7 separate regions of the Homo sapiens genome follow, and regions 2, 3, 4, 5, 6 and 7 are each linked to region 1. The links are contacts of gene promoters, found by promoter capture Hi-C in human tissues and cell types (Jung and others, 2019). All regions are on one chromosome and are shown on one strand. Each heading gives the region's core, a stretch centred on a gene start or on the middle of the fragment in contact. The rest is flanking DNA. Distances are from core to core; before and after follow the strand shown.

What was found. Contacts are between HindIII fragments. The study calls those that stand out against the background at their distance.
Region 2: a fragment that was not itself captured here is called in contact with the fragment with the promoter of RAB36 in region 1 in 1 of the 25 tissues and cell types used here (dorsolateral prefrontal cortex).
Region 3: a fragment that was not itself captured here is called in contact with the fragment with the promoter of RAB36 in region 1 in 2 of the 25 tissues and cell types used here (bladder and hippocampus).
Region 4: a contact is called between a fragment that was not itself captured here and the fragment with the promoter of RAB36 in region 1, in 2 of the 25 tissues and cell types used here (H1 embryonic stem cells and mesenchymal stem cells).
Region 5: a contact is called between a fragment that was not itself captured here and the fragment with the promoter of RAB36 in region 1, in 2 of the 25 tissues and cell types used here (dorsolateral prefrontal cortex and thymus).
Region 6: a contact is called between a fragment that was not itself captured here and the fragment with the promoter of RAB36 in region 1, in 2 of the 25 tissues and cell types used here (lymphoblastoid cells and spleen).
Region 7: a fragment that was not itself captured here is called in contact with the fragment with the promoter of RAB36 in region 1 in 2 of the 25 tissues and cell types used here (IMR-90 fibroblasts and liver).

What each region holds. Positions count from the first base shown.
Region 1 is chr22:23,144,187-23,146,749 of GRCh38, reverse strand. RAB36 (RAB36, member RAS oncogene family) reads right to left here and starts at 1,273. Exons shown (of 11, transcript NM_004914.5): 1 at 1,199-1,273; 2 at 65-145. The coding sequence starts at 133. It also overlaps a transcript of RSPH14 not described here. RefSeq lists a silencer at 1,451-1,520. The HindIII fragment of the contact is 15,551 bases long and covers 1-2,563 here.
Region 2 is chr22:22,151,361-22,153,923 of GRCh38, reverse strand. It overlaps IGL. Among named protein-coding and RNA genes, the nearest start is that of VPREB1, 92 kb to the left of the region's middle. The HindIII fragment of the contact is 8,574 bases long and covers 1-2,563 here.
Region 3 is chr22:22,182,951-22,185,513 of GRCh38, reverse strand. It overlaps IGL and the pseudogene BMP6P1. Among named protein-coding and RNA genes, the nearest start is that of VPREB1, 61 kb to the left of the region's middle. The HindIII fragment of the contact is 5,139 bases long and covers 1-2,563 here.
Region 4 is chr22:22,202,818-22,205,380 of GRCh38, reverse strand. It overlaps IGL and the pseudogene LOC100419915. Among named protein-coding and RNA genes, the nearest start is that of VPREB1, 41 kb to the left of the region's middle. The HindIII fragment of the contact is 6,097 bases long and covers 1-2,563 here.
Region 5 is chr22:22,319,946-22,322,508 of GRCh38, reverse strand. It overlaps IGL, the pseudogene BMS1P20 and IGLV1-51. Among named protein-coding and RNA genes, the nearest start is that of VPREB1, 76 kb to the right of the region's middle. The HindIII fragment of the contact is 8,428 bases long and covers 1-2,563 here.
Region 6 is chr22:22,341,039-22,343,601 of GRCh38, reverse strand. It overlaps IGL, the pseudogene ASH2LP3 and IGLV9-49. Among named protein-coding and RNA genes, the nearest start is that of VPREB1, 98 kb to the right of the region's middle. The HindIII fragment of the contact is 3,556 bases long and covers 1-2,563 here.
Region 7 is chr22:22,368,120-22,370,682 of GRCh38, reverse strand. It overlaps IGL, the pseudogene ASH2LP2 and IGLV7-46. Among named protein-coding and RNA genes, the nearest start is that of VPREB1, 120 kb to the right of the region's middle. The HindIII fragment of the contact is 6,576 bases long and covers 1-2,563 here.

The DNA of each region.
Region 1 (2,563 bases), core at 24-2,523:
AGAGTGGGGAGAGCTGATGTGGCTGCAGGGCCAGGAGAGCACTGCAGACGTAATGACTCTCTACCTTAGGGAAGCTGGCGATGACACGGTCGCGGCTCACAGGGGGCCCCAAAGGTGTCAGGGAGGACCTCATTCTTCCACAGTCCTGTGGACCCAACCAGGAGAAAGACAGTTAAGGAGCTGTGCAAATACCTGGGGATTCACCCATGAGTTTCCACCTAACTTTTCATCAGATCCAGGCTGGGTGCAGTGGCTCATGCCTGTAATCCCAGCACTTTGGGAGGCCAAGGTGGGAGGATCACTTGGGCCCAGGAGGTTGAGACCAGCCTGGGCAACAAAGTGAAACCTCAGTCTCTACAAAAAAAAACCAAAAAAATTAGCAGGGCATGGTGGCCTGTGCCTGCAGTCCCAGCTACTTGGGAGGAAGGTGGGAGGAATGCTTGAGCCTGGGAGGTCAAGGGTGCAGTGAACCGTGAAGGTGCCACTGCACTCCAGCCTGGGTGATAGAGTAAGACCTTGTCTCAAGAATTATAAATAAAACCAGATCCAGGCTTCCCTCTCTGTCAGGAATATGGGGCAGAGGCCATTTCTCTCAATCTGCATACAGCAGGCAGCATGGTATGGGGGAACCAGGCCTGCCCCACCCTGCCTGGGAGTCAGAAGACCTGGGTCTCCCCTTGACAGGTGTCTACCAAGGAGGAGCTCCCCTCTGAGCTTACCTTACTGGGCTGTGAGGCATGGCACAGCTCAGGCAGTGGAAGTAGAGTGGGGAGGGGTCTCCTGCTCCCAGTCTGCAAAGGACGAAGGCTCTAGGTGGGCCTGGGGGCCTTAACTTTCAGCCAACTAGGCCTTTTCCCTGAAAACCCTCACTTCACCAGGCCTCTGACTCCTCGAGCCTCCTCAACAGCCCCTCTGTCTCCTTTTTCTGTCCGGACTCCTCTCCAGGCTGGGCTGGGGTGGTCCTGGCGGAGTCCGGTTGTCTTCCCGCATCTGACCTGGCTCTCCTCCACAACCAGCGCGGGCCTGGCCCAGAGTTTGCGCTCCGGAAATGAGGACGCCCCGGGGCCGCAGGCCGCTTTCAAGTTATAGGGGCGGGAAGTGGGCGCGGACGCTGTGCCCTCGCGGCCCTGGCCTCGGGATGTGCCAGCACGGGGTTGGGTGACCGGGAGGGTCGGACAGAGTGGGCGAGCTGACTCACCAGCGATGGCTGTGAAAGCTGGGGCTCCGCGCGGCCTGGTCCGCCTGAGCCAGCGGCGGCGATCACCATGGCAACGAGAGCCACGCGGGACCTGCGGGCTACACGAATCGTCGACGTCGTGGGCGGGGTCTGCGTTGGACTGGCAGCGGCGCGTCCAAGCATCCAGCTTGCACCGGCGATCACCATAGCAACGAGAACCTGCCTGGAGTCTGGGCGGGGCTGGCAGCAGAGAGACTCCTGGACACCCTGGAGAGCCGGAGATCACCATGACAACAAGGGCGGTGCTGGATGGGTGGGCGGTGGGCGGGGCTATGGAGGCCCGGGGGCGGAGCCTGAGCCCTGGGTGGGGCTGACCGTGGAGAGATTCGCGCAGGTTCTGGTGATCAGCTCGGCTGGGAGAGGTTGGGCGGTTATGGCATAAGAGCTCCTGATGTGGTATTGATGTTTAATTGGAGTCAAGCACCCTGCAGCTGCAGAAGATAGACCTGCCTACCATCTACTGACCTTAGTCTGCATAGTTCTGAATCCAGTGCTGTCTGAATATCATATGCCTGGCTTCTAGAGCTCACGGTACAAAATTAATTTCCTTAATAAAAAGCTGACCTGAGTCAGTGATTTCCTCTGAACTAGTTTCGGTTTGGAAAGTTAGCTGTTTTGGGCTAGATGGCCTCTTGTGGCCCTTATAAAACCGTGGAACCAGCTTCGAAGTCCGGGGTTCAGTTTGAGAACCTACTTAATTCAGCTCCTTAACTTTTCTGCATCACAATATGGAAGCCTTGGTACACAGATCTAACTCAGTCATCTTCAATTCAAAGCTAAGTGTGCTGGAGGCTGGTGTTTGATGTCTTTTTTTTTTTTTTTTAAAGAGATGGAGTCTTGCTATGTTGTCCAGGCTGGACTCGAACTCCTAGGCTCAAGGAATCCTCCCGCCTCAGCCTCCCCAGTCCTTGGGACTACAGGCAAGGGCCACCACACCTGGCTCTGTTTAATGTCTTTTAGTGAGTTTCACTGCTAAGGTTGAGGCTTAGGGGGTGAACTTAGGTGAGTTGTTCCACCTTCCGCACCTCAGTTTACTCAACTATAAAATAAACGCAACTATCTATTTCAATGGATCACCTGAGATGGTGAAAGTGCTTTTATACTGTAAAGCTTGATTCAAGTCCATTAACTATTCATTTGTCCTACATGTACTGAAAGCTTCCTGGTATATGCCTAGCACTGGGGAGACAAGGAAAGAGAACGGACATGGTGTCCACCCTCAGGGAAATTGGAGTCCACTGCGGGAAGCAGAGAAGTAAATAGAGAATTAGGGGAAGGGAGTGTGCCAATGGGATTTAGGAGAAGGGAAGATTAAGCTGTGGGGTC
Region 2 (2,563 bases), core at 37-2,536, 990 kb after region 1:
CATCGATTTGTGGTCTAGACTTCATGTACTTGCTGCTCTCACCCCTCACAGCCTGCTCCAGCCTCCAGACCTTTGCATCTGCTGTTCCCTCTGCCTGGGATGCCCCCACCCCTCCCACCCCAGCTCGGCTCACTCCACCACTTCTTTACATAGGTTTTATTTCCATTTCTTTGTTTTCAAGTGGAAAGTCACAAAATTTATTACACTTATTATCTATTTATATTTTCCCTGTATAAATGTCTATTTCTTTCATTTGTTTTAGTTTGTTGTGGTGGTGGTTGTTGCCAATTTGCAAATGTTTTCTATGAATCCTAGATGATGCCTTTTCACAGGGTAACTATAACTTCCTGGTCTGTTGCCTCTGATAAATGTTCCACTAAATTTCTTCCTTTAGTGTTTATTAATATTTATTAGTCTAACATTTTTGTGTAATTTTTTTTTGAGAAGGAGTCTCGCTCTGTCACCCAGGCTGGAGTTCAGCGGTGTGATCTTGACTCATTGCAAGCTCCGCCTCCCAGGTTCACGCCATTCTCCTGCCTCGGCCTCCCGAGTAGCTGGGACTACAGGCACCCGCCACCACGCCCGGCTAATTTTTGTATTTTTAGTAGAGACAGGGTTTCTCCAAGTTGGCCAGACTGGTCTCGATCTCCTGACCTCATGATCCGCCCTCCTCAGCATCCCAAAGTGCTGGGATTACAGGCGTGAGCCACCGCGCCTGGCCTCCTTTCCACTTAAAGGTAAGTGGCCTACCCATCAAATCAGCATTACTCAATAGTTTATAATGGGCTCTCTCTGTCCTTTGATGAAAAAGGGAATTCAGCTCTGGACAAAAACCCAAGATAATGAGCTTGGCAACATAAAGCAACTTCCTTTTATGAAATCCACTCACAAAATAAATGTGGTATAAAAATTAAAGACAAAACAGTAAGACAGCATTGATTCATTGATCTCAGAACTAATTCCAACTATATAATATTAACAACACTCATGATCTGAAATTTAAGCTGCAGCTAGCATCATGTAACAACAAGTTATTTAATATCCTCAATTACAGTAATATTGAATTTTAACAATTGAAATTATATTTTCTAGAGCACTACAATGGGAATGTTTTTCAAAGTGTAATATTGGAAATTATCAGAAGGTGAAAATTTGTTCACATGAAGCACTGTTCATTAGTCATTCAAGAATATGTTTACAATAAATCAAAACAAGTCTCATGTTAGTTGCACCCAACTTAGAGTTCCAACCAATATGAAGTAAAATCTGGGTGAATTAGGTTACTATTATCCAAAACTCTCAACTGTGTTTTTTTCCTGTGCCCTTTATTCACGTATCTCAAGAAAATAAAAATAATCTAGGGCTAAAAGAATGAGACTGACTCTCAAAATGATGGCTCGCAATGACTAAAGATACAATAATTCAAAAAATATTAAGCATCTACTATGAACATTGCACTGCACTGGAACAGGAATTAAAAGAAATTAAAGAATGTGTAAGCAGAACCTCAGTTGTATGTAAGAAAATCCAATTCCCCCTGAGAAAGAGAAAGAGCTAGAGTCCTTTAAAAAACTAACGGCCTATTTTTCTGTGGCTAATGAGCTTTCTCTCCCCTCCATTCCCAGGCATTGTGAAGACCCTGATTCCCTAGCTGGGCAGCTGCAAAGTCACTAGACACATAAACAAAAGTCGCAAAACATGTTTTTCCTTGAAAAGTAAGAAATGATGTAACGCATTTCTCAATTAATTGAATAACTGTCTTTGTTTCTCACTTCTCTAACATGCTTCCCCCTGCACAGATCTCCTCCCACCCTACAAAATGCTTAAAAGGTAACTTAACTCTTTGTTCAGGGCTCAGTCCTTTGGATGTTAATCCGACTGGGCTGGTGCACCTAAATAATAAATATCCTCCTGAACCCCATCAGTCTCTCTGATTCCTTAAAAAATATCCTGCAACAGCACTAGACCTGTGAGAAGTAGATATGAATAACATATTTCTGTCTTTAAGTCATCTATCATCCACTGTAGCAGATACTTGATAGATATAGATACTACTAAATAGTATGATGTTATGCACACACACACACACACACACACATTAAATAACTATAATATTATTTTCAGTTGCTAAAGGAAAAGGAGGCATCGGCATCAACTGTTTTCTAGAAGACAGACTACTGGCTTGGGTTAAAGCAACTGAGAAGGCTTTTTGAAGGGAGTTGAATTTGATATAAATTTAAGAGGGCAGATATGTGAGCTGGGAATGGCACTGCAGATGTAGGGAACAGTATGTATACAAATAATAAGTTTTAATGTAGAGAACATATAGAAAAGGACAGATAGCAATGTTTTTTTGTAACAAAGAATAGTAATGAAAGATAATGCTGAAAACAAAGATTTGATTTAGGTGTGTCTTAAGTTTCTGCCCCGTGAGTTCTTTATTTTATGCTTCTCCTCCAGCAATGTGCGTACTTTATATTGTGTTGCACCCCCAATGACATCACAAGTAGAAGTGCTTTTAAATATTTCTTCTACCTTAATATGGAAATACTCCATAGTTTGT
Region 3 (2,563 bases), core at 26-2,525, 960 kb after region 1:
CTGGTACTACTGGCATGCACCACCATGCCCAGCTAGCTTTTTTGTATTTCCTGTAGAGACATGGTTTGGCCATGTTACCCAGGCTAGCCTCAAACTCCTGGGCTCAAGAGATCTGTCTGCCTTGGCCTCACAAAGTTCTGTGATTGCAGGTGTGAGGCACTGCACCCCGCCAATGTTCTCTCTGTAATGAGGCATTCTTTCCGTACTTTCCTTAACAATTGTTAACGTTGTTTTATTTATTTATTTGACCACATTTACAAAAGCTAATTTGAAGTTTTTATGTAGTAACCACCAAATGCATCTCTGGACATCATTTTGTCAACTTATTTTTAATGTTGTTTGTTTGTTTTTATGTTTTGCTTTGCTTTCCTTTTTAACCCTGTGTATGGACAGTACTTTGCTGTGTCCCTGCCTCAAAATTTCACTTTGCCAAATGGAGCTTCTCAGTCACACAATGTGACGATTCTGGAAATCAGATTCTTTCCTTAAAATATTTGTCATAATTGCTTCTGGTTTTGTTGTAGTTGTTATTGTTGATGATGATTTATTGTTTCACGGTACTGGAATAATTCTCTAAGTCTGTTTTCTTTGCTTGTGCAGCCACTGCAGTCTCTGCTCAATTATATCAGTCATTAGCTTATTATTGGACAGACATGTTCTTAAACGCCTCGAACAACACATTCCTCAGCATTTGCCGAATGCTCTGTGCAGGGGTTGGGTCATGACTGCAAAACCCCGCCACTTTACAACTCTATTTTAGCCTTCCTTGTTGATTTCAGCCAGTGTCGAAAATTAAGGACTTTCCTAATTTTTACCTGGCCATGCACATAACTCTGAGCATGAGAGTGATCTTCTGTCTTTCCAGGAATATGGCAGAGCTCATCAAAATCTTCTACAGATTCTGACACCCAGTTTTTTTCTCTCAAGGTTTTTGGTCAGCCTTTTATTGACCCCATCTTGTATCACTGACTCAGGACCTTAACAGATCTCACTGATTGTTTTGATAAATGTATTGAGGATGAAGCTGTTTAAACCAAGCGAGCTCTGAGACAATTCACATTTAGAAAAGTACAGAGCGTGAAGCTTTTCTGAGCTTTGGAAAGCTCAAATAATGACAGTCGCACGGGAATGGGGCTTTTGAGAAAATTCCAGATCTGGTATTTGGTTGCTTCAGTGAATGCTATTTTTCTAGTTTCCCTAGATCCAGGAGATTTGAGGCTGTTGGTTTTTAAGGCTACTGTGGAACTTGGGAGAGAGCAAAAGAAATAAAATCACCACAAAGCTTCAGATTCTTACAGAGATTCCACATTATTTTAATTGATTGATTGATTGATTCAGACAGGGTATTGCTTTATGACTCAGGCTGAAGTAGAGTGGCACAATCACAGCCCACTGCAGCCTCCACCTCCCAGACTCAAGTGATCCTCCACCTTCAGCCTCCCCAGTAGCTGCAACTACACCCACACACCACCACATATAGCTACTTTTTTAAAATGTTTTTTAGAGAAGAGGCCTCACTCTGTTGCCCAGTCTGATCACAAAATCCCAGGAGTGATAAAGCAATCGCTCTGCTTCAGCTCCCAATGTGTTGGGATTATAGGCATGAGCCACCATGTCTGGCTGTTATTACTATTTTTTATGATTCCCAGAATTTTGTAAGCTTTTGGTAATGTACAGAGTTCTGAAAAGTAGATTTATATCATTTTTACTGCTGTTCTCATTGCTTGTATGGTGAATCAGGTTTTCTGATGGCCTCATACCACCATTCCAGAAGTTTTTCTGAAGCTACATTTTTTTTTTGGAGAAAAAAGTTAAGAAATAAAATTCTGACATTTAGGATCAGGGCTGTCAGGATGACATTAATGATTATTTATATCCTTCTTCTTTGTTAGATTATTGCAAATCAGTTGTCATGTTCAATGTGGTGGAGGCAGTTTCTCCTCATTTTCTCCTAATCCCAAAACCCACGCACTGAACAACTGAGAAAACCTTTATAAACCACCAAAAATTTTAAATCTTTTTATTTCACTGTCTATAAATTTTCATTATTTCCATCGCTGTGTATCAACAGTGTGATTTCTAGCATTTTGTTAGAATTCAAAATTTTCTTAAGAAGTTATATCTTATGGGTGATTGTTAAAATGAAACTTGATGTGGCAGGGGTGTGCCATGCAGCAGAGTTCCAGTGTTTAAATCCACAGGGAAAAATGTCCTTGCAGTTCCCATGTGGTGACAATGTATCGACATGCAGGGGGTGACAGGATCTGCCTTAATATTGGCCACATTAATACAGACTTGTGTACTCCTTAGGAGCTTGGCCTAGCAAACTTGTTCCTAAGGAACCCAAAGCAAAAAATCTATCTAGCTATCTAGGTATCTGTCTATCTAGCATCTAGCTAGCTATCTGCCTATCTATCTGTCTAGCTAGCTAGCTAGCTAGCTATCTGCCTATCTGTCTAGCTAGCTATCTATCTAGCTAGCTATCTGCCTATCTATCTATCTATCTTTCTTGAGTAGTAAGGAAAACAGGCACTGTTTCTCAGGGCCACGTGGCAGCCTTCAT
Region 4 (2,563 bases), core at 35-2,534, 940 kb after region 1:
GCCTTTTAAAAGAATTTAAAAGGAGTATTAAGACGGTATCTTCTGCTATGAAATAACTGCCGAGGTTGGCTCCAGGCATTTATGCCATTAGCTTTTAAAACTCTTAGGGGACTCCAACATGCTATATTGCAGTAGGTTTAGCTTGTCACAGAGTCTTATACCATGTTAAGATTACCTTAAAACAAAATCACAAACATAAATAAAAACAATTGAGATCACCCAACATTCTGCTCTAACATCAATCTAGTGCAGATTAGTCACTCTGCCATCAGCAAGCATCAGACTTTCATTCAAGTAAGACCTGGTACAATCCGTTAAAGAAGAAGAAAAAAAAAAACTTCCCACAATCCTTTGTTAAGTATTTCTCTCTAAAAGATTGACCATTTCTAAACAAATAATGGTTCCAAAACAACAAATCTATTTGTATCAAAATGTAATGGGCCAATCATTTGGTAACAAGAATGCATCAATATAAGTTTCTAAGAATTGTAAAATTCAAATTTCAACAGCGTAACTACCAAATCACAAACTCTGTTCAAAATAATAAATTTTATATAAAACACTTCTCTTAATTTCTGCCTGAAAGCTGCTTGTCAAAAGTAATGTACTGTCATAGATGAAGGTACACCATTTTTTAATGTTGTGTAAAAATACACTTTTGTAGAAAATAGACTACCAGGAATGAACAGATTTACACTGTGAGAAATTAGCTTTCAAATTAAGCAGTGCTCACTTAAACAGAAAATTACAGATGCAGTAAAATCACCCAAAACTATCATGCAACATCATTTAGGCGCCCAGCAACTTTTAGTTCCGAGAAAACATTTTAAAAGATGATTATGGCGTTACACTCACAGAAAAGCTATTAGGAAGTGCCAGCTGCGGTGGCTCACGCCTGTAATCCCAGCGCTGTAGGAGGCCGAGGCGGGTGGATCACGAGGTCAGGAGATTGAGACCATCCTGGCTAACACCGTGAAACCCCGTCTCTACTAAAAATACAAAAAATTAGCCGGGCGTGGTGGTGGGCACCCGTGGTCCCAGCTACTCGGGAGGCTGAGGCAGGGGAATGGCGTGAACCCAGGAGGCGGAGCTTGCAGTGAGCCGAGGTCGCGCCACTGCACTCCAGCCTGGGCAACACTGCGAAACTCCATCTCAAAAAAAAAAAAAAAAAAAAAAAGGAAAGAAAAGCTGTTAGGAACTTTACAAGTGTTATTACCCTGATTAGAGTTCATGTCATTCTCCAAGCACAAGTTCTGTATGCAATTTTCCCAGGGTGTAAGGTTTTCAGACATTTCAAGGGTAGGCATTTTATTCAGAATATGTGGCCCCAGAGTGAGCAAGTTATTCATTGCGTTGCCTTTTGCTTTTGAGTCTGTTTGCACCAGTTGTCGTACTTGGTTAGGATAGGAGTGATCAAATACTGCATCCTAGTGCCCGTTACTGAGCCAACTGAGCCAAATACTAGGCTTTAGGCAATCCTCTGGGCCCAAATAATGAATCATGGTAGATAGACACTGTGGGCCTCTCCAGCCTCCCTCTAGTAGTTCAGTGCTATTCACATTCAGCATCTACCCTATGTACACAGGGTACCCAGCCACGCCCCGTTTTGGGCAGCCGCGATAATAAGCTTCCCCGTGTCACCCTCACCCAGGGAGCTAAAGTGGTGGAGACGATCGGGATGGGGCGCACCCTCCGCTCCGCAGCTCCTGGTGCAGGCTCGGGTCTAGCACTGGGTCTTGCTGACAGCACCGTAGAGGCCGTTGCCATGGGGAATGATGTGGAATCGGTGCTGATTCTTCTGCGTAAGCCCATGTCCTGCTTCTCGCCTGGGCCAGGTGCAAGGCTAGCTTCTCCTGTGATCCGACCTGGAGAGAACCACCTTGCTGGCGCCGCTCTGGGCAGCCTCGCTGCTGCTGGTCTGGTCGGGGAACCTCAGCCTCTGGGTGGGGCCTTAGTGCAGCGTCTTCACCTGCATCTTCGCCGTGTCTTCTCTCTCTCCCAGCCCCGCAGGCTCATCTCCGCCATGTGCTCTTCTCCTGGTGGACCCTGGCGAGGATCCGGGCTCCCCGGGGGTGATGCAGCCTCCATCCTGGGTGGCGGCCTGGGTTTGGCGCTGCTTGCTCAGGGGGAAGTTTCTATCAGGCCCCTCCCGAGCTGCCGCTAAGCCGCGGGCTCCATGCAGGGTAGTCGGGCGCAGCAGCTCCTCCAGGAGCCAGGTGGAGGAGCCCTGCCAAGGCAGGCGGGACTGGGCCATGCACCAGGAGCCTTGCAGCTCCCAGACCCATGCAGAGATCCACATGGATCATCTCTGTCAAGTTAAAGAGATAAAACAAAACTAAACTAACAAAACCAAAAAAAAAAAAAAAAAAAAAAGAGGTCGGGCACGGTGGTTCACGCCTGTAATCCCAGCACTTTGGGAGGCCGAGGACGGCGGATCCCGAAGTCAGGAGTTCCAGACCAGCCTGACCAACATGGTGAAACCCCGTCTCTACTAAAAAATACAAAAAATTTAGCCAGGCATGGTGGCGCACGCCTGTATCCCAGCTACTCAGGAGGCTGAGGC
Region 5 (2,563 bases), core at 31-2,530, 820 kb after region 1:
TGATGAAGATTGTCCCGAGTCCTGCCTTCTGCGCTCACAGCTGAAGCAGAGCTTCCCCAAGTCTCTCCCTGCCCCTCTTTATACTCTGAGAGAAGGAGGGTCCATCCATGCAAATCAGACCCTCCAGCTTTCTGATCCCACCCTGGGCCCTGGGTCAAGCTCCTCTGCCTGAGGATGTCAGAGAGTGCCAGGGGTGGGGCTGTGTGGTCCCAGGGGGTGGAGAGTTGACATCTGTGAGCCCTAAGCATAGGGCACCAAGCAGGACAGGTGGCGCTGGTCCTGCTCTCATCACACCCAGTCTTCTCAGGAATGGTGCGCAGGCGCCCCCTAGTGTCCATGGTGCGACATTGTACACCACCATTGTATGACAAGGTGACCAGAGCCTCTCAGAGACACCCCTGCCTCCCCGTTGTTCTGTCCATGGCCCCCTCCATCAGGGCCAGGCCAGGCAGCCCCCTGAGTCTTTTCTTCGTGACCTCAGGGCAGACTTCACATTCTACTGGGTTCCTCAGGGGTGAATCTGTCCATGTCTCCTTGGCTGTTCACTGTATAGGACTCAGGTGGTGACTACACAAAGTCCTGTTATGGCAGAATGAAATCGAGAGCACTGACCAGCCCCATGGACTCATTTCCTCACCTGTGGGGACACCGGGTCCTCTCTTGTCGTGTGGCTGCTCCCTGGTGGCCAGAGCTGTCCTTCCTCTGTGGATTCTGCAGTGCTGGGTCAATAGGGAGCTCTTCCCTCCAGGATGGCTGGGGCACATTCTCAGAGGGTTATGCTGGTAAATCTTTGTTCTGTCTCTTCTTTTCCAGACTTGCAGTCATAGTCATCTGGATCCTGTGACCAGGGATCTCACCTAGGAGTCTGTTCTCCATCACTGAATGCCAGTCTGCAGGAGATCCTGGCGAATGACTTTGCAGTGTTTTGCTAAAGAGCAAAACAAGCAAATATGCTCCGTATTTGAAGATGGAAGAATTAAAACTTTAGCTTGTTTAGACCACAGTCTGCACTCAGGTGAGCCTGACACATGGTAGCTTTTAGGATCAACCATTCCAACTAGGATGTTTAGGAAATAATACTGTTCAAAATCACTAATGAGTGTTTTCAGCATGTCCTAAAGATGAGAGAAATTATTCATCTTTGATGTGTAATGAAACCTAGAAGATGATACATTAAAAACAATAAACTGAAGAAAAAAGATAACCGTATTTATTAAAATGAAACAAATTATGTGTATGACTGCAAGAGTTCTGGCATGATGCATCTTGGACTCAACAAATCTTTGTTTGGGGAATCCCATGTGGTTGGAGAACAGCAGGATAGTTATTTACTCTGGTGAGTCTGTCACCAGGCAGTTGTAGTACCATGAGGTTTTACATGCACCATTTAAACAATGTACTAGGCCGGGCACTGTGGCTCACGCCTGTCATCCCAGCACTTTGGGAGGCTGAAGTGAGTGGATCACTTGAGGTTGGGAGTTTGAGACCAGCCAGGTCAACATGATGAAACCCCATCTTGGGCCGGGTGCAGTGGCTCACACCTGTAATCCCAGCACTTTGGGAGGCCAAGGCGGGTGGATCACGAGGTCAAGAGATCAAGACCATTCTGGCCAACATGTTGAAACCCCATCTCCACTAAAAAATACAAAAAATTAGCCGGGCATGGCGGCGGGTGCCTGTAGTCCCAGCTACTTGGGAGGCTGAGGCAGGAGAAGGGCATGAACCCAGAAGACAGAGCTTGCAGTGAGCCGAGATCATGCCACTGCACTCCAGCTTGGGCAACAGAGCGAGACTCCATCTCAAAAAAAAAAGAATGGTCTCTTTACGCAAGAATGATGGATGTGGATTTTGTGTTTAAGTCTTGAAAAAAGAGTCAGTGACCTCGAAATCTCTTGAAAGAATATGCAGAAAGCTTCCTGTGCACTCTCCTAGAGTCACCTAGTTCCTGAATTTTGAGAAGCAAGTGATAGGTCACTCGGGCCTTCAATGGGGAAAGTGATGTTCAGAACCATGTCACCTCAGGTGTACACTGCAGGTGACAACACAGTCTCAACCCAGCCATCCCCCATCCCACACCAGCTGCAGCAACATTCTCTACACTCTCACATAAAAAGGGTTATCTGGGGCCAGGCACGGTGGCTCATGCCTGTAATCCCAGCAGTTTGAGAGGCCAAGGTGGGCGGATCACAAGGTCAAGAGATCAAGACCAAACACGGTGAAACCCCGTTGCCACAAGGAAAAAAAAAAATTAGCCGGGCATGGTGGCACATGCCTGTAGTCCCAGCTACTAGGGAGGCTGAGGCAGGAGAATCACTTCAACCGGGAGGCAGAGGTTGCAGTGAGCCAAGATCGCGCCACTGCACTGCATCCTGGGCGACAGAGCGAGACTCCTGCTCAAAAAAAAAAAAAAAAAAAAGGGTTATCTGGGCTGGGCGCATTGGCTCACGCCAGTAATCCCAGCACTTCAGGAGGCCGAGGCGGGCAGATCACCGGAGATCAGGTGTTCGAGACCAGCCTGACCAACATGGAGAAACCCCATCTCTACTAAAAATACAAAAATTAG
Region 6 (2,563 bases), core at 25-2,524, 800 kb after region 1:
CATCCCCCTTGGATCCCACAATCCCACCAGTGCCCACTCGCATCACAAACCGGGGGCCCTTCCCTGGTCTCTGCTGGTACCAGTCCACTTTATAATTACTGTAGCCGCTGCTCAGGGTGCAGGTGAGTGTGACCGAGGCTCCCAGGGAGGCTGATGCAGAAGGTGGCTGAGTCAGCACAGGCTGGGAGAGGGACCCTGGAAACACAGACACCCATGAGGGCTCCTGTTGGTGGGTGGCTGATGAGCTGTTGGAGGAGGAAGAGCAGGGATGGGGAGATGGAGGCTGGGAGGTGGGGGTCCCTTTGGGGGCCCAGCCCACTGCCCACCCTGACCTGTGAGGAGACTGAGGAGGGTGAGGAGCAGAGGAGCCCAGGCCATGGTGGAGCTGCTGCAATGCTGGGTTCTTCAGTCTCTCAGCTGAGCCTGAGGCCCTAAAGCCTCTTATTCCCTCAGTGAAGAAGTGGGCAGGGACATCACATTCCATGCAAATCGGCTCCCTCCCAGGGCTGGTGATTAACAAGGGCAGGGCTCAGAGCAAGAGCTCAGGTCCCTTAGGATTCACAGAGTTTGCCTCCCCCTAGTGGCCAGGTGCTGCGTCACACTCAGGGATCAGACAAGGCCTTCTGGGCCCCTGCTTCACCTGGAGCCCATGTGGGTGTCCTGGAAATTTCTCAGGCTCCATTTCTAATGTCTCAGGAATCTCCACAGTGCTTCTTTCCCTCTGGGGTCCCACAGTGGGATGCAGTGACTAGATCAGTTAATCCTGGAGCCCGCCCAAGGCACCTGTTCCAACTTTCATTATAGGATGGGCGAGCCCTTCAACTGTTACTCCACACAAACTGAAGATGTGTCCACACTTGTAGATGACCACCTTCTCACTCTGTCCTCATCTCATTTTATGTTGTCCATTTTCTAATCTCCTCTTATAAGGATGCCGGTCCTTATGATCTCATTTCATCTTAATTACCCTCTGTAATGCTCTGTCTCCAAATACAGTAATATTGGGGGTTAAGGCTTCAATGTGAATTATGGAAAATTTAGTACATAATGACCAGTAATTACAGTACTTTTTTTAATTGATGAGAATGAGTTAGAATAGGATAAATATATAAGTGTGAAAAGGAAAATTTTATGAATATAACATCATATATATTTTGACATTTGAACAAGTGTATTTTTAATTGTCATAGAATACACACAACATAAAATTTGCCATTTAAATCACTTTTAACTGTAAAATTCAGTGGTGTTAAGTATATTCACAATGTGATAGAATTGCCTGGCATGGTGGCTTGCACCTGTAGTCCCAGCTACTCAGGAGTCTGAGGCAGGAGGCTTGCCTAGACCCAAGAGTTCAAGGATGCAGTGAGCTATCATTGTACCACTGCACTCCAGCCTGGGCAACAGAGCAAGTTACCACCTCTGAAAAAAAAGTGATACAGTCATCACCATTATGAATTTCCATAACTTTCTCATCATCCCAAGTGAAAAGTTTGTACCCTTTAAACGTTTATTTCCCCTCCCCACTCCCCTAACCCCTGGTAACCAGTGGAGAAGAGGGGGATTGGGAAACTGGGTGAGGGAGAACTCAGGGCTCTGAGACACAGTCCAGGAAGAAGCAGAGCAGAGACAGCACCCATGCTGGCTCTTGGGAGATGCTGCTTGGGCAGGTGAAAGCTTTCTGTGGCTGTGTTTCTATCCCTGCATGACCACGTTGATGCAGGCTGCCCGCTGTGGGATGTAGGATCAAGTCTCGTGGGTCCCATGGCAGTGTGTCCTGTGACTCCACCTTTCTCCCCAACAATGTGTCAGAGACAAACACTGACAGCCTTTTGTTGGGGCACTTGACACATAATTCACTACCTCTTCCTATGTGCATTCCCTCCAACAGTCATGTTACGTATCCTCCAGAGACTTCAGAAATGTCCTGCTTTCAGTCCAATTCTTTCATGATGGTCAAGGGGAATTGCATCAGTAGAACATGGATTCTGCTTTCCAATATGCTAAAGAGAGTTTGAATCTATGGTAAAAACAAATGAGATTGTACTATAATTTTGATATCTAATACTATTCATATTGATTGTGTGCCATTCTTTTCTGGGATCAGAAATAACTTTGGATCATGCGATCTCTATTTGGTGCCCTTTGAACATTTTCTTCATGTGTGGTAGCACTGTCTCATGATGCTGCAGGGCTTGGACTTTTGAATGAAGATGTTTGATCATTTGATACACACATGCACACACACACACACATACACACACACGAGAGAGAGACAGAAAGAGAGAGAGAGATCTGTGGACAGTTGCGCTAGCATAGGCTGGCCTAGGATACAAGTAAGGAGAGAAGGCAGGTAGAATAAGATGACCCTCAGTGTCCTTATGTTTGCCCCTGAAGGACTTTCTTGTCCAGTGATTGAATCCATTTCTAGCACCAAGACACCAGCCAGAGTGTGCTCTACCAGAGCATCCCAGCCCATGTCACTCATAGGGCAGTAAGTGAGATCCTTTGGAGGATACTTGAAGCACAGTCCAATGTTCATGGAAATTATGCAGTTGTTTTC
Region 7 (2,563 bases), core at 19-2,518, 780 kb after region 1:
ATTGTTTCTGATGAGACAGCTTTGCAGTGAACTTGGTGGTTTTTAATATTTTTATTTTATATAATAGGCATGTATTGGTTTGAAAGTAAATCAATAAAGCAAATTTTAGTCATATACAAAAAAAGAGTTTCTTCTCTTTGCTCTTAGCTCAGAAAGCCTATACACTGAAGATGCTTCTTTCTGGAGGTATTGGTTTGAAAGTAACTCAATAAAACAAACTTCAGTAATATGCAAAAAAAGTTTCTTTGCTCTTAGCTCAGAAAGCCTATACACTGAAGATGCTTCTTTCTGGAGGAAATGCATTTTGACCCAGCCTTTATATGTGATCCTGCTGTTAGTGTTCCTTTTAGAATAGAAAACAATTAACTTTTCCTTTTTTTTTTTTGATCCAGTTACTCCCAAATCATTCTTACATTTCCTACACATCAAGACTTAAGTAGAAATAGGAATCAATTCAAACCCTTTCCTTCCCCTTTCTATGGCTGGTCCACATGTAGGCTATCTTGGGATCTGGCATGTCTGATCATGTGATCTCCACATCACAAGGGCCGAGGGAGGTTTATGTCTTGGTTCCTCTCATGGGTCTGTCACTGTGCCGAGCACCACTATAGGAGAGCAAGCAGTAATACTCAGCCTCATCCTCAGGCTGCGCACCCAAAAGGGTCAGGGCAGCTTTGCCCCCAAGGAGGGAGCCTGAGAACCGGGCAGGTGTCCAGGAGTGTTTGTTGCTTGTATCATAAATCAGTGTCCTGGGGGCTTGGCCAGGCTTCTGCTGGAACCAGTAGGGATAATGACCACTGGTGACAGCTCCAGTGCTGGAGCCACAGGTGAGAGTGACTGTCCCTCCTGGGGACACAGTCAGTGAGGGCTCCTGAGTCACCACAGCCTGGGAATTGGACCCTGAAACAAAAAAAACAGACATATATTAGGAATTAGAAAGGGAGAAAAAGGGATCCCTCCAAAGGCTGGTATTTGAAATCTCTCTTAACCTGGGCAGCAAGTGAGGAGGAACAGAAAGAGAGGAGTCCAGGCCATGGTGCTGATATTGGAAGGGACCCCTGGTGCCAGAGCTGGGGCTGGATTCTGATGGCTCTTTATCTCCTATTGAGCTCTCCGCACGGAGGGGGTGTGCTGTGTGCTGCTTTATGCAAATCTTTACTGCCTTTATCACCACCTGGGTCCACAGCCCTGAGAGCAGCTACACTGTGGGGGGCCAGCCCAGGGTGGCTGTGTGCTGTGGATTTGTCCTGTGGGAGGAAGCAGCTGCTCTAACATTTCCATGAGTCAGTGAGCATCTGTGCAGGGTTCATTAAGTTTGAACCTCTTGAGCTTCTTACAATCCAAGAGACCCAGACCACCCCCTGGTGGCTTTCCTGGACTGAGAATGTGTTGTCTTTCACTTCTTTAACAAATAACTATTGATTTGTCTTTGGACATTGCCACAATATTTCCCAGGCCAATTCATACCCATTACTTGTCTATTCTTTGCTCATTCCTGTTTGTATTACTTTCTCTTGCTGTTGCTGAAATCCTGCCCCTGTGACTATAATGCGATTTTAGTGCTACATGGTGTTCGTTGCTATCTGAACACCAGATAACAACGTTTGAATGACTAAATATTTAGTTTGAATGACTAAATAATTGTTTTAATGACCTACTGACTTTTTGAAACTATTTGCGTTGAGCCTCATATTGGATAAACAGCTCGTTTATATGAGACTTTTTAAAATAATTTTCTTTAGAAAATTTTTTAAAAGAAAATGACCAAAGGTTGAAGATTGAAGTTTTATTGTCAATTCAGTGGAAACTCAAGTGAGCCATGAGGATGGTCATCAAGGTCTACATAACAACCCCACTCTCACCCACCCCACCAATCAAAATTTTTCTGGACACCAAGCCTGGGTGAGCTTTGCTGGTTGGCAATGCTTCCTACATAGAATCACACATTGTTGCCGGCAGAATGCAGCGTTGTCTATTACTCCACTGGGAGAGGACAAATGGATGCTTGTGCTTGGAATTCTCCTGAACTCTGCCCATGTGTCTCTTTCCTTGAATTATTTTAATCTGTATTATTTCACTGTAGAAAAATCACATTAATGAATGTCACAGTTTTCAGTGAGTCATGTGAGTCCTTCTAGGGACTCATAAGAAGTGAAGGGCTGTTTGGGGTCCCTGAGCTGAAAATTAGCTTCAGAATTGAGAGTGCTCTTGGGAATCTTCAGACCTCCCAGTTTCCAATCTTGCATTATTCTTTTTTTTAACTTCAAAACAAATTTTATTTAGAAAGAGTTTTTCATGTTGTTGATGATGCAAGCAAACTTTTTTCACAATTACACTTCTAGAGATCTAGTAGTTTCAGAGATCTAAGTCTTCAAAGGTATGTTTTAAAATTAATAACAAAACCAAATCCACACCGACAAGAAATCACTTTTTGCTTGGTTTGGAAGGGACAGCCATTGATACCAGGTGTTCTCAGAAACGGGCTCACCACTTCCTTGGAAAACAGATAGCATGGAATCAGTGTCCACAGAAGGAAATGTCTTTAAATATGTTTGTTTTTGGG